Linked DNA regions of Homo sapiens: regions 2, 3 and 4 are each linked to region 1. Evidence: promoter capture Hi-C in 16 types of primary human blood cells and fetal thymus (Javierre and others, 2016). All regions are on one chromosome and are shown on one strand. Each heading gives the region's core, a stretch centred on a gene start or on the middle of the fragment in contact. The rest is flanking DNA. Distances are from core to core; before and after follow the strand shown.

Region 1 (2,734 bases), core at 90-2,589:
TAACCCTTAACTTGCCCAGATGTCTACTTTTTGAGAACCCCATTTTTGTTTAAAGCTGCTAAAGTTAGAAAGTTGTTTCAGCTATAGAACAAGGCCATTATTTATGTTATCTCTTTGTTTACTGTGGTGATTCTCAATATTTTACAATTTTGCAATTTACTGGGGTTTTTTGTTTTGTTTTGTTTTGAGATGGAATCTTGCTCTATCACCCAGGCTGGAGTGCAGTGGCATGATCTTGGCTCACTGCAACCTCTGCCTCCCGGGTTCAAGCAATTCTCCTGCCTCAGCCTCCTGAGTAGCTGGGACTACAGGCGAGCACCATCACGCCTGGCTAATTTTTTTGTACTTTTAGTAGAGACGGGGTTTCACCATAGTAGAGACGGGGTTTCACCATGTTGTCCAGGCTGGTCTCAAACTTCTGACCTCAGGTGATCTGCCCGCCTTGGCCTCCCAAATTGCCGGGGTTACAGGCATGAGCCACTGCGCCCAGCCGCAGTTTATTGTTTTTGTTGTTGTTGTTGTTTGTTTTGTTTTTAAATTTCCCTTCCTGAGTTCATGATTATACCCTGACACTAACTAGCCATTTCTAATTGTCATGTTAAAAAAATTACACAAATTAAACTTTATTCTCTTTCTCTCTCTTTTTTTTTTTTTTCAATCTAAGAATTTCTTAATACTCTGCAAGATAACTAGAGGTCTCTAACTTACAGTTTTGTGCAGTTTTGGGCGAAGCTTAATGTAAAAATTTGGTTAAACTTGGTAATTGGGGAGAATGCTTTCTGAGTCTTGTTCCTCATTAATTTCTGGAAATTGACACCAAATCTAAAGGGAAGAACGAAGAAAGTCCTAGGCTGTTTGTTCTCCAAGCAGGCCTCCCCAGCCACTGTCTTGGCACCCCGTCTCATATCCGTTCCCTCTGTGGAAGAATTCAGCCAGCAGAACAGTGGTGAAAAGACATTGAGTTGGGGCCCAACTCAGGCCTTAAGGAAGCACTCTTCCTTTAGGAGGAGATGTTAGAAGTTTGTCCTTGTAGAGCTATAAAATGTATGCATAGAACAAGCATCATGCAATATTTTTAAAGGGTGGAAATTAAAATGTCAAGTGCAGCATAGTACAAATAGCAGGGAATATTTACAGAGTGACCAAGTGGTGAATTTTCATTACTGACTAATGAACTTCATTGATATCAGGTATGTGGTTGGATCTCAATTCTGATAAAGGAGTTTGCTAGGGTGTGTCAGAGATATAGACATGGTCTTTTCCAAAGTGATCATTTGAAAAAGAGATATCCACATCTTCAAGCCCATATAAAGGATAGAAGCTGCACAGGGCAGCTTTACTTACTCCAGCACCTTCCTCTCCCAGGCAAAATGAAAATACTTGTGAGTATTTGTTTCTGCTTCTTGATACTCTTGTGGTGACTGCTTGCAGACAATGCTCATATCTAATATGCCATGGATTTTGGGAGTCTTAGACAGATACTGTGCATGCTTCTAAGCTTCTGTGATTGAATTAATGACATCTTTGGCAGAAATAGTGTTGAATAAGTCTGACTTTTTTTGTCCTTTTCCTGTTTTGAGATGTTTACTTAAAAGAAAATTCAAAAATACAAAGAAATCTCTAGATAATTTTGATTTGGAGGATGTTTAATAATAATCCTTTATTATGAGCTTCATAGGGAATTTGGGCTATTTAAAACAACTACATTTGCTATCTAAGAGAGAAGCTGTAGTTTAAAAATAATATCAGTAATAGTAATAATAGTACCTCTCATTTCTCAAATGCATACTAAGCCTTAGACTAAGCATATCACATGAATAATTTCATCTATTCATTGCAACAACCCTATGAGTTGAGTAGTATTCTCCCCGTTTTACAGATAAGGAGACTGAGAGGCAGAGGAATGTGATTTTCCCAAGCCCGTAAATGTGGGATTTAGAATGTAATTTATCCATCTGAATCCCCACTTGCAGGCGCAATCATGGCAAATTTAAGCAGCCAGAGTGTCTTCAATGTCCTCTCATTATGACTAAATTCTCCCTTAGGACAAAACGTTCCTTCTATGGCCACTCCACCCCTCCATCTGATCCCAGCCTCCGTAGTTCCACATTGCAGTGCCCCATGGACAGTGGGCTATGTTCTGACCTAGAATGGAATTCGCTCCCCTAGTCTCTGTCCTTTATTCTCATTCAGCTGCTAAGGGAGAAAGCAAAATGTTAAGTACCTCTTTCTAAAGTGTTAAAGACTATCAGCTTAAAGAGCTCCCTCTCTCAGGGCTGTCTTGATTTTCCAAATTGAGACCTAACCCTGAAGCACAAAAGTATTATATAACCATGGTGTATTAACCACAGTGTTGGAAGGGAGATCATTTTGGGGCAGAGGACACTCCCCAAGCTCTCTCTAATCATACCATTAAAGTGGTTTAGTCCTTCGACTACTTGTTCAAACCACTATTTTAGACTCATTAACTAGAATATACGGGAGTATCATATGTTGCTGGAGCTGGTCTGTGGTAAGAGAAGATGTATCCCTATGGAAGGCTGAATATCAGCACACAGGTCTTTGTTAGATGCTCTACTCCCAGTCCCCAGAAGAGAAATATTAAGGGTGGGATGGAAAGGGAAGTAGGAAAGTCCCACTGACAGTTCTTAAAAATATCCCCCTTCCCCAAGACTCCTTTCATCAGCAGTTTTCAAATGACAGTGCAGTCAACTATGTACTGATGTAGTTTTCA
Region 2 (2,734 bases), core at 110-2,609, 310 kb after region 1:
GGTTTGGCTGTGTCCCCACCCAAATCTCAACTTGAATTGTATCTCCCAGAATTCCCACGTATTGTGGGAGGGACCCAGGGGAAGGTAATTGAATCATGGGAGCCTGTTTTTCCCATGCTATTCTCGTGATAGTGAATAAGCCTGACGAGATCCTGTGGGTTTATCAGGGGTTTCCACTTTTGCTTCTCCCTCAGTTTCCTCTTGATGCTACCACGTAAGGAATGCCTTTCACCTCCTGCCTTGATTCTGAGGCCTCCCCAGTCATGTGGAACTGTAAGTCCAATTAAACCTCCTTTTGTTCCCAGTTTCCGGTATGTCTTTATCAGCAGTGTGCAAGTGAACTAATACACAGGGTCTCAAAGGCATGTTTGTACATCCATGTTCATAGCAGCATTATTCACCATAGCGAAAACATGGAAACAATCCAAATGTCCATCAATGATGAAGGGACAAACAAAATGCTCCACATACACACATACACTCACATGGGAACTTCCAAAAGTTTGTGGGAAAATGGAATTAAAAGATAAAAATACATAAACTTTAGCTCTCAGCATAAGCTCCATCACGTTCAAGATGCTTTTGTAATGATGGCAGACATTTAGTCCATCTCTAAAGGACTAAGGATCCTGGGAATTTTTCTATTTTATTTATTTATTTTTATTTTTTTGTTAAAACAGGGTCTGGCTAGGTTGCTCAGGCTGGTCTCAAACTCCTGGCCTCAAGCAATCCTCTCACCTCAGCCTCCCAAAATGCTGGGATTACAAGCATGAGCCACCAGGCCTGGCATGGGTCCTGGGAACTTAACCATGTCAATGAAGCCCTTTTTTTTTACATTATTAACGTAAGAAAAATAGCTGCTCCTTAAAGACTTTTTAAGATTAGGAAATGAAGTCAGAAAGAGCCAAATCAGGATGGTAAGAAGGATGGCTAATAATTGCCCTTGTTCAATTAGAGGAATGAGCAGTAGTATTGTCATGGTGGAGAAGGACTCTTTGGTGGAGCTTTTTCAGGCATTTTTTCTGCTAAAGCTTTGGCTAATTTCTCAAAATACCCTCATAATAAGCAGATATTTCATTCTTTGGCCCTCTACAGAAAATCACATGCAAAATACTGTGAGCATCCCCCAAAAACTATTGCTATGACCTTTGCTCTTGATTAGTTTGCTTTTGCTTTGTCTGAACCACTTCCACCTCTTGGTAGCCATTGCTTTGATTGTGCTTTGTCTTCTGGATCACACTTGTAAAGCCTGTTTTTTCTGTTATTACAGTTCTTCAAAGAAATCTTTCATGATCTTGATCCCGCTTGTTTCGTATTTCCATTGAAAGCTCTATTCTTGTCTACAGCTGATCTGGTCACAACAATTTTGGCACCCATCAAGTGGAAAGTGTGCTCAACTTTAATCTGCCAGTCAGAAATGAGTAAGTTCAACCAACTGAGGTGTCTGTGGTGTTGGTTATGTTTATGCTGTTAATCATCAGTCCTCTTCAATTAGGGCATGAATAAGGTTAATTTTTTTCTCACAAATTATGTGGATGGTCTGCTGCTGCAGACTTCATCTTCAACATCCTCTCGTCCCTTCCTGAAATGAGTATCCACTTGTAAACCGCTGATATCTTTGGGTCATTGCCCACAAAAAGCTCTTCGTAAAGTATCAGTGATTTCACCATTCTTCCACCCAAGCTTCACCATAAATTTCATGTTTGCCGTTGCTTCAATTTTTCAGAATTCATGTTCCTCTGAGAGGGGCTCTTTTCAAACTGATATCTTATCCTTCTTAGTGACTCAAACTAGATCCTGTTCAGACATGTTGTAACAAATGAGTACGAGTTTATTTGGGTGCAAACAAAAATTGAAATCCATGCTTACTTTTTTCATAATATGCATGCTCCCCAAATTTTTGAAGCCCCTTCATGTGTATGTGTGTGCGTATATACACAGAATGCAATATTATTCAGCCTTCAAATGGAATGAAATTCTGACACATGCTACAACACGGATATACCTTGAAGACATTGTGCTAAGTGAAATAAGCCAGTCACAAAAGACAAATACTATATGATTCCACTTACATGAGGTAGCTAGAGTAGTCAAATTCATAGAGACAAAAAGTAGGATGATGGTTGCCTAGGTCTTGGGGAAGAAGGAATGGGGAGCTATTGTTTAATTGGTACAAAGTTTCAGTTTTGCAAAATGAAAATAATTATGAAGATGGAGAGTGGTAATGGTTGCACAACAATCTGAATGTACTTAATACCACTGAACTGTATATGTAAAAACTGTTACAATGGTAAATATTTTTTTTCACTTTACCACAATGAGAAAATGGGGAAAAAAGGAATGGTGTACTGACACATGCTACAACATGGGTGAATCTTGAAAACATGATGCTAAATTAAATAAGCCTATCATAAAAAACAAATATTGAATGATTCCACATATATAAGATACCTAAAATAGGCAAATTCATAAAGTCAGAAGGTAGAATGATTGTTACCAAGGGATGAGGGGGAGGGGGAATAGGAGATTATTATCTGATGGGTTCAGAGTTTCCGTTTGGGATGATGAAAAAGTTCTGGCAATGGATAGTGGTGATGGTTGCACAACATTGTCAATGCATTAATGTCACTGAATTGTAACTTAAACAGTTAACATGGTGAATTTTATGTTATGTGTATTTTACATATGCAGCCATGCATCACTTAGCAATGAGGATATGTTCTGAGAAATGCAT
Region 3 (2,734 bases), core at 1-2,500, 280 kb after region 1:
GATAAGATGCCAAGTCTTGTAGTCATATATTCTTCTAAATTGCAACAAAATGAAGAGTTAAGCCTTCTGACACATATTCTTGCAAAGTCTTCTCTTTCATAATTAAGATATTCACAACCAAAAATTATAAAAGCTTATAGCAGATAAAACCTTCCAAATAATTTGTTCTGGCCCATCCTGCTCTAACATTCCTCTTCTCCTCTTAACTGGCTTCATTTGATCCTGGCCCTAGTTAGGTTCTCATTGAGGCCATTTCCTCCCAACTCACTCCCTATATTTCAATACATTGCTTTATCTTCTGCATGTTGTCCCATAACCTAGTTGCATTTTCCTGAGAGAAAATATCCATCGTGTTATTCAAAAATACAGGAAAATTTTACCCTTTTATGAGAACTTATTAGAATGAAGAGCCTCCCTTGGGCATTAGCCCACTGTGAGGGAAAGTTAAAACGTCTAGTTGCTCCCCCAAGTACAGACCATGGCTCCATAGGTGAGGACTCAAAGACCATGAAGAATCACAACTTTACCTGCTCTCTGGGGCTTTACCGAGGCTGGGGACCAGAGTAGACTCTTTGCCCTTGGCCATTGAGATTGAGAAGAAAACCTGCTCAACGTTATCAAATCAGGTCTCCTGAGGCTTCTAAGGGGCAGAGTGAAGTAGCAGGATAAGTTTTTGGCAACAAATCAAGACCCCAATCTCCACTCCATGTTATTTCCAAGCAGCTGTGCGGCCTTTCTGGACCTCAAACCTCAAACCTTTAAAATTAGGGGCTGAACCTCCAGCCTTCAGTTACACATGACAGATTAAAGACTCCCGTGAGTCTCTAATGTTTCCTAAACCTCATGAAAATGACTGCAAAGAGATTTTTTTTAACAAAGAAAATGAAAGCAGGAATGGAAATAAGATAATGAAATTTAGAAGCTGGAAAGCAAATGAACTTAGTTGTCCAAGAAGGCTAAATCCCCAAAATCAGTGAGGAAAGCTGAGAAGCAGCCATGTTTGAACCATTGAACCCTCCGAAGTTCCAGGAATTAGTAGGACTTGGCATCTTTGGAAGTGAGGGTAAAGACAAGGTTGAAAGCAGGGAGATGAAAAGAAAGTCTGTTGGAAAAAATTTTGACTCCAGATCTCTTCCCATCATTACTGACCTGGACATCTGCTCTGACCTATTCAGATAAAACCAGAAGGCTATTTTTTGAAGAGGATTAAACAGAGATGTTGAAGATTTGGGCCATAAAACACAGTTGATGGAAGGGGTACCGTCAGAAAATAGGGGATTGAGTTTAAAGTTGACAACCTGAATGTAGAGAGCCCAAAAAGGACACTAGGAGATCCTTCTCTGAATCATAACCAGCCCAAGAGAAAAGAATTGAAGATAAATCTTGTTCCCAAAAGATCTAGCCCAGCTACAGACCCTAGTATCATGTCCATAGTGAACAAGCCTTCTCTTTATGCCCAGAGCTCCAAGACAGCCTATCAGTACCTCATTATTAAATATGAAGGAAGAGTCAAGAATTACCAGGCAACTTGAGGAAAGCATCTAATATAAAAGACAGACCAAAGCAAATAGAAAAAATAAGGGTTAACCCTTATTAAGCGTATACTGTGAGCTAGGTACTATTCTAAGTACTTTATGTATATTTACACACTTAATCTTCACAATCACCATTTAAGTAAATACTATTATTACATCCATGGAAAAAGTGAAGGAACTGAGGCATGGAGACATTAAGTAACTTGCCCAAGGTCACACTGTAAGCTGAGAAGCTGTCATTCTAAGCTGGCAATCTGTCTCGTGTCTATGTCCTTAACCACTAAGCCTAGAAAATGATAATAATTAATAAAATACAACACACTTGTTAGCAATAGAGACAATTCAAAGAACAGAGTAGTTCACAAAGTAACAATAATATCCCCTGAAAGATAAGAGAAAAAATTGCATCTAAGATACAAGAAAAGAATGCTATAAAAATTGAATATTTGGAGCACTAATAGAGTCTTAGCAATTAAAAATATAGAAACTGAAGTGAAAAACTTGATGGAATGGAAGGCTTCCAGAAATTAAAGCCAGTCATAGGTGGTTTCCCAGCTTCCAAACTTTGCCCACTCCCCTGCCTTCCCCAGCAATTTTCATGGCAATGGGCCAAGTGCTTAATTTTAAACCCTAATTTAGAGCCAAGTCAATTCCTTGTTTAAAACTCTCCATCAAACTCCACTCACATTTAGGAAAAAAATTTACACTCTGCCATGACCTGTGAGGGATTGGGTGATCTGCTGTGTGGCCTCTTCTCCAATGTCAGCTCCGCTCATGCCCTCCTTACTCCAGCCACACTAGCGTCTTACTGTTCCTCATCTCTCCAAGCTTCCCGTCTTGGGACTCTGGACTTGCAAGTTCACTGCTCGGAAAGTTCTCCCAGATATTTGAAGGGCTGGCTTCTTCATCTTGTCAGAGGCATTTGAACCAGAGTCACTCCATCTTGAATAGGGGCTGGGTAAAATAAGGCTGAGACCTACTGGCCTGCATTCCCAAGAGGTTAGGCATTCCTAGTCACAAGATGAAATAGGAGGTCAACCAAAGATACAGGTCACAAAGACCCTGCTGGTAAAACAGGATGCAGTAAAGAAACCAGCCAAAACCTACCAAAACCAAGATGGTGATGAAAGTGACCTCTGGTCATCCTCACTGCTTAGTTCATTACACACTAATTATAATGTATTAGCATGCTAAAAGAC
Region 4 (2,734 bases), core at 98-2,597, 260 kb after region 1:
TGGGAAGGCTGCTGGAAGACAGCCAACTTTAGTAGCTGAGTAAAGACTAGAGTTCCAGCCATCTTCAAAGCACCACCAGGAGAGGAGTTGAGTGAGGAGAGGTACCAGTGGCAATGGCATGGCGGTGGTTCTTGGAAAAGGACTGTACCTCTGAAGCACTGTCAGCAGCAAAAAGGGAAGTGTTACTGCAGGAGGAAGGAGCAGCTACAATAGTCAATTCACCCAGCTCCCTAAGATGAGAGATTTGGAAGGATGAGATGAAGTCAGCCCACACTGGCACTGGTCACACATCTGTTTATTGGAAGAAGTGCACCTTCTCTCTTAGTGCAGGATTTTGGCATAGGTGCAAAGATAGCTTCACTGTTTTTATTTTTGAAGAACATGAATATTATAATTGCCTCTGCTCTGTGGCATAAACTCTAAATAATGCCTCCTGACTTAAAGAAAAACAGACAACTTAATAGTCATTAAAAACAATTTAAGATAATTCAACTACATTCCATCTCTCTTTTTTTTTTTTTTTTGAGACGGAGTCTTGCACTGTTGCCCAGGCTGGAGTGCAGTGGTGCAATCTCAGCTCACTGCAAGCTCCGCCTCCCAGGTTCACACCATTCTTCTTCCTCAGCCTCCCGAGTAGCTGGGACTACAGGCACCCACCACCATACCCAGCTAATCTTTTGTATTTTTAGTAGAGACGGGGTTTCACCATGTTAGCCAGGATGGTCTCGATCTCTTGACCTCATGATCCACCCATCTCAGCCTCCCAAAGTGCTAGGATTACAGGCATGAGCCACCATGCCCGGCCATATTCCATTTCTTAAGGATTCACCTACTCAACCCATAGTCAAATGTCTTGTCCTCTCTTCTAGTTTATCCCTTCTCAATATCTTCCATGTAGATGGAAGTGACTTGAGACTATTCTCTTTTGCATTCTCAACTCCTAAGTTAATACTCCCTGAAATCTATCCTACTGGGTTCTTCTGGACTCCATCTCATTCCTAGATTTATTGTAATTTTTCTTTCATTTCCAGTATAAATTCTCTAGCTAACACTTCTCCTCTTGTCCAATAAACTAGACCTCATAATAATAAAAATGACCACCAAGGAGAGTAGAATAGAGGAGAGAGAAGGAAGGTAGGAAGGATAGGATAGTGTAAGGGAAGTACCAAGTTAACAATGCTAGAATTTCCAGAATGTTCTTTATGGGCAAAGGGAGGGTCAGAGATTATGAGTGCTTATGCATTATTTGATTTTGTCTGTATTGTTCAAGGAAAATGAAATTTCTTTGAAAAATTCAAAGTATTTTTTGATAGGGAGGAAACACTTCTCCATCACCTTTGTGTCTAGGTAAAGAGCTTCATTGAAAAAATAAAAATATAACAGAAACTTATAGTGGGATTTTCTGAGGTTGGCACTAACAGATGTCTGTGGCCTCTGTCCACTAGAGCTATTTGAGCAGACCCTTACTGCCAGAAGAGACCACTGTAATGAAAACCTTAGTTAGTCCTCTTGGAATTATGTGGACTAAAGTGAAATTATTGAGCAAGGGGTCTAGGGACTTTGAGTGGACTGATGACTCCAAGGAGGGTCTGGCCTCCTGTCATTTGCTTTCTGCCTCTCAAATTTTGATAGCATATTTATACAACTGTCCAGAGCTACCATTCCCTCCTGGATAGGAATTTTGCCTGCCAGGTACCAGTGAAAAATGAGGACGAGACCTCTGGCCCCAGCTATTGGCAGAGAGTCAGGCTTATTGGTGTACTCCTGCTGGCTGGAGCATCACTGAGAGCTCACAGGCCACGTGCTGAGAGAACATCACCCTCAGCAGCACATTTGTCAGAAAGCTGTTCTCACCTGGACACCTGAATCCATTACAGGCTTTCCCCAAACCCAGCAACACTGGAGACCTGGCTTCTCTCTACAAATACTCTACCCTTCGAAATCTCAGTCTAGTGAACAAACCTTTTTCTCCATGCAGAGTCCAGGCCAGGTGTGTTGGGAACATAAGCCCCTGTCAAACACCTCATTGTACCTCCATCTGCAGAAGAGAAGCATGTTTTCCTGACCTTCCGCTGGTAATCACCATGTTTTGGGATGCATGGTTTTTCATTTTAGACATTGATGTCAATTTCAAACAAGTTATATTCCTACCACACTCCTAACAAACCATATTTTAAATTAACATGCAATATTCAGATTTTAAAGCAAAAGTGCAAGCTAAAATATTAACCTGTTAATTGGTTAATAGTTATAAGGCCTAATGACACCTTTGAATCAAAAGATATACTGTATTCTGCTTCATTTTGCAACAATACTAGGAGGTAAGAAACACTGACTATTTCCTGGGTGTCAGGTACACAGTACCTTATTTCATCTAATCCATGGTCAGCTCCTCTTTGGCTCTCGGTACTGAGGATGAGTTCTGGTCCCAGAGACCAGAGACAGCAGAGAAGACACAAAGTAACCACAGGCCTTTTTCCATTTCAGTTGGTAATACACCTCTTCGTTATGAGAGTTAATGCAAATGAGCACAATCTAAATGAAGCCCCGCGGAATTACTCAGAAAGGGGAAGGCAATGCAAGATTTCCAAAGGAGTCTTGCAGAGAGAAACAGGAGAGCCCTGGGTGGTAATAGCTATCTCATTTCCTGCTAGCACTTTCTCGCCACATCACACCACTTCTCTGTTTTTCTGCTTTATCAATCAGTAAAATGAGAGCCTCAAGACAATAAGGC

What was found. The method cuts DNA at HindIII sites, captures the fragments that hold promoters and counts their contacts. A CHiCAGO score of 5 or more calls a contact.
Region 2: a fragment that was not itself captured here is called in contact with the fragment with the promoter of GKN2 in region 1 in 5 of 17 cell types (total CD8 T cells, activated CD4 T cells, non-activated CD4 T cells and 2 more); the score reaches 6.3 in total CD8 T cells.
Region 3: a fragment that was not itself captured here is called in contact with the fragment with the promoter of GKN2 in region 1 in 5 of 17 cell types (activated CD4 T cells, non-activated CD4 T cells, naive CD4 T cells and 2 more); the score reaches 7.4 in activated CD4 T cells.
Region 4: a fragment that was not itself captured here is called in contact with the fragment with the promoter of GKN2 in region 1 in 7 of 17 cell types (activated CD4 T cells, non-activated CD4 T cells, total CD8 T cells and 4 more); the score reaches 11.0 in activated CD4 T cells.

Annotation. Positions count from the first base shown.
Region 1 is chr2:68,951,498-68,954,231 of GRCh38, reverse strand. It overlaps GKN2 (gastrokine 2), which reads left to right and starts at 1,339. Exons shown (of 6, transcript NM_182536.3): 1 at 1,339-1,382. The coding sequence starts at 1,371. The HindIII fragment of the contact is 766 bases long and covers 735-1,500 here.
Region 2 is chr2:68,639,810-68,642,543 of GRCh38, reverse strand. No RefSeq gene overlaps it. Among named protein-coding and RNA genes, the nearest start is that of PROKR1, 2.4 kb to the left of the region's middle. The HindIII fragment of the contact is 652 bases long and covers 1,034-1,685 here.
Region 3 is chr2:68,671,902-68,674,635 of GRCh38, reverse strand. No RefSeq gene overlaps it. Among named protein-coding and RNA genes, the nearest start is that of PROKR1, 30 kb to the right of the region's middle. The HindIII fragment of the contact is 2,230 bases long and covers 136-2,365 here.
Region 4 is chr2:68,690,168-68,692,901 of GRCh38, reverse strand. No RefSeq gene overlaps it. Among named protein-coding and RNA genes, the nearest start is that of ARHGAP25, 43 kb to the left of the region's middle. The HindIII fragment of the contact is 3,397 bases long and covers 1-2,734 here.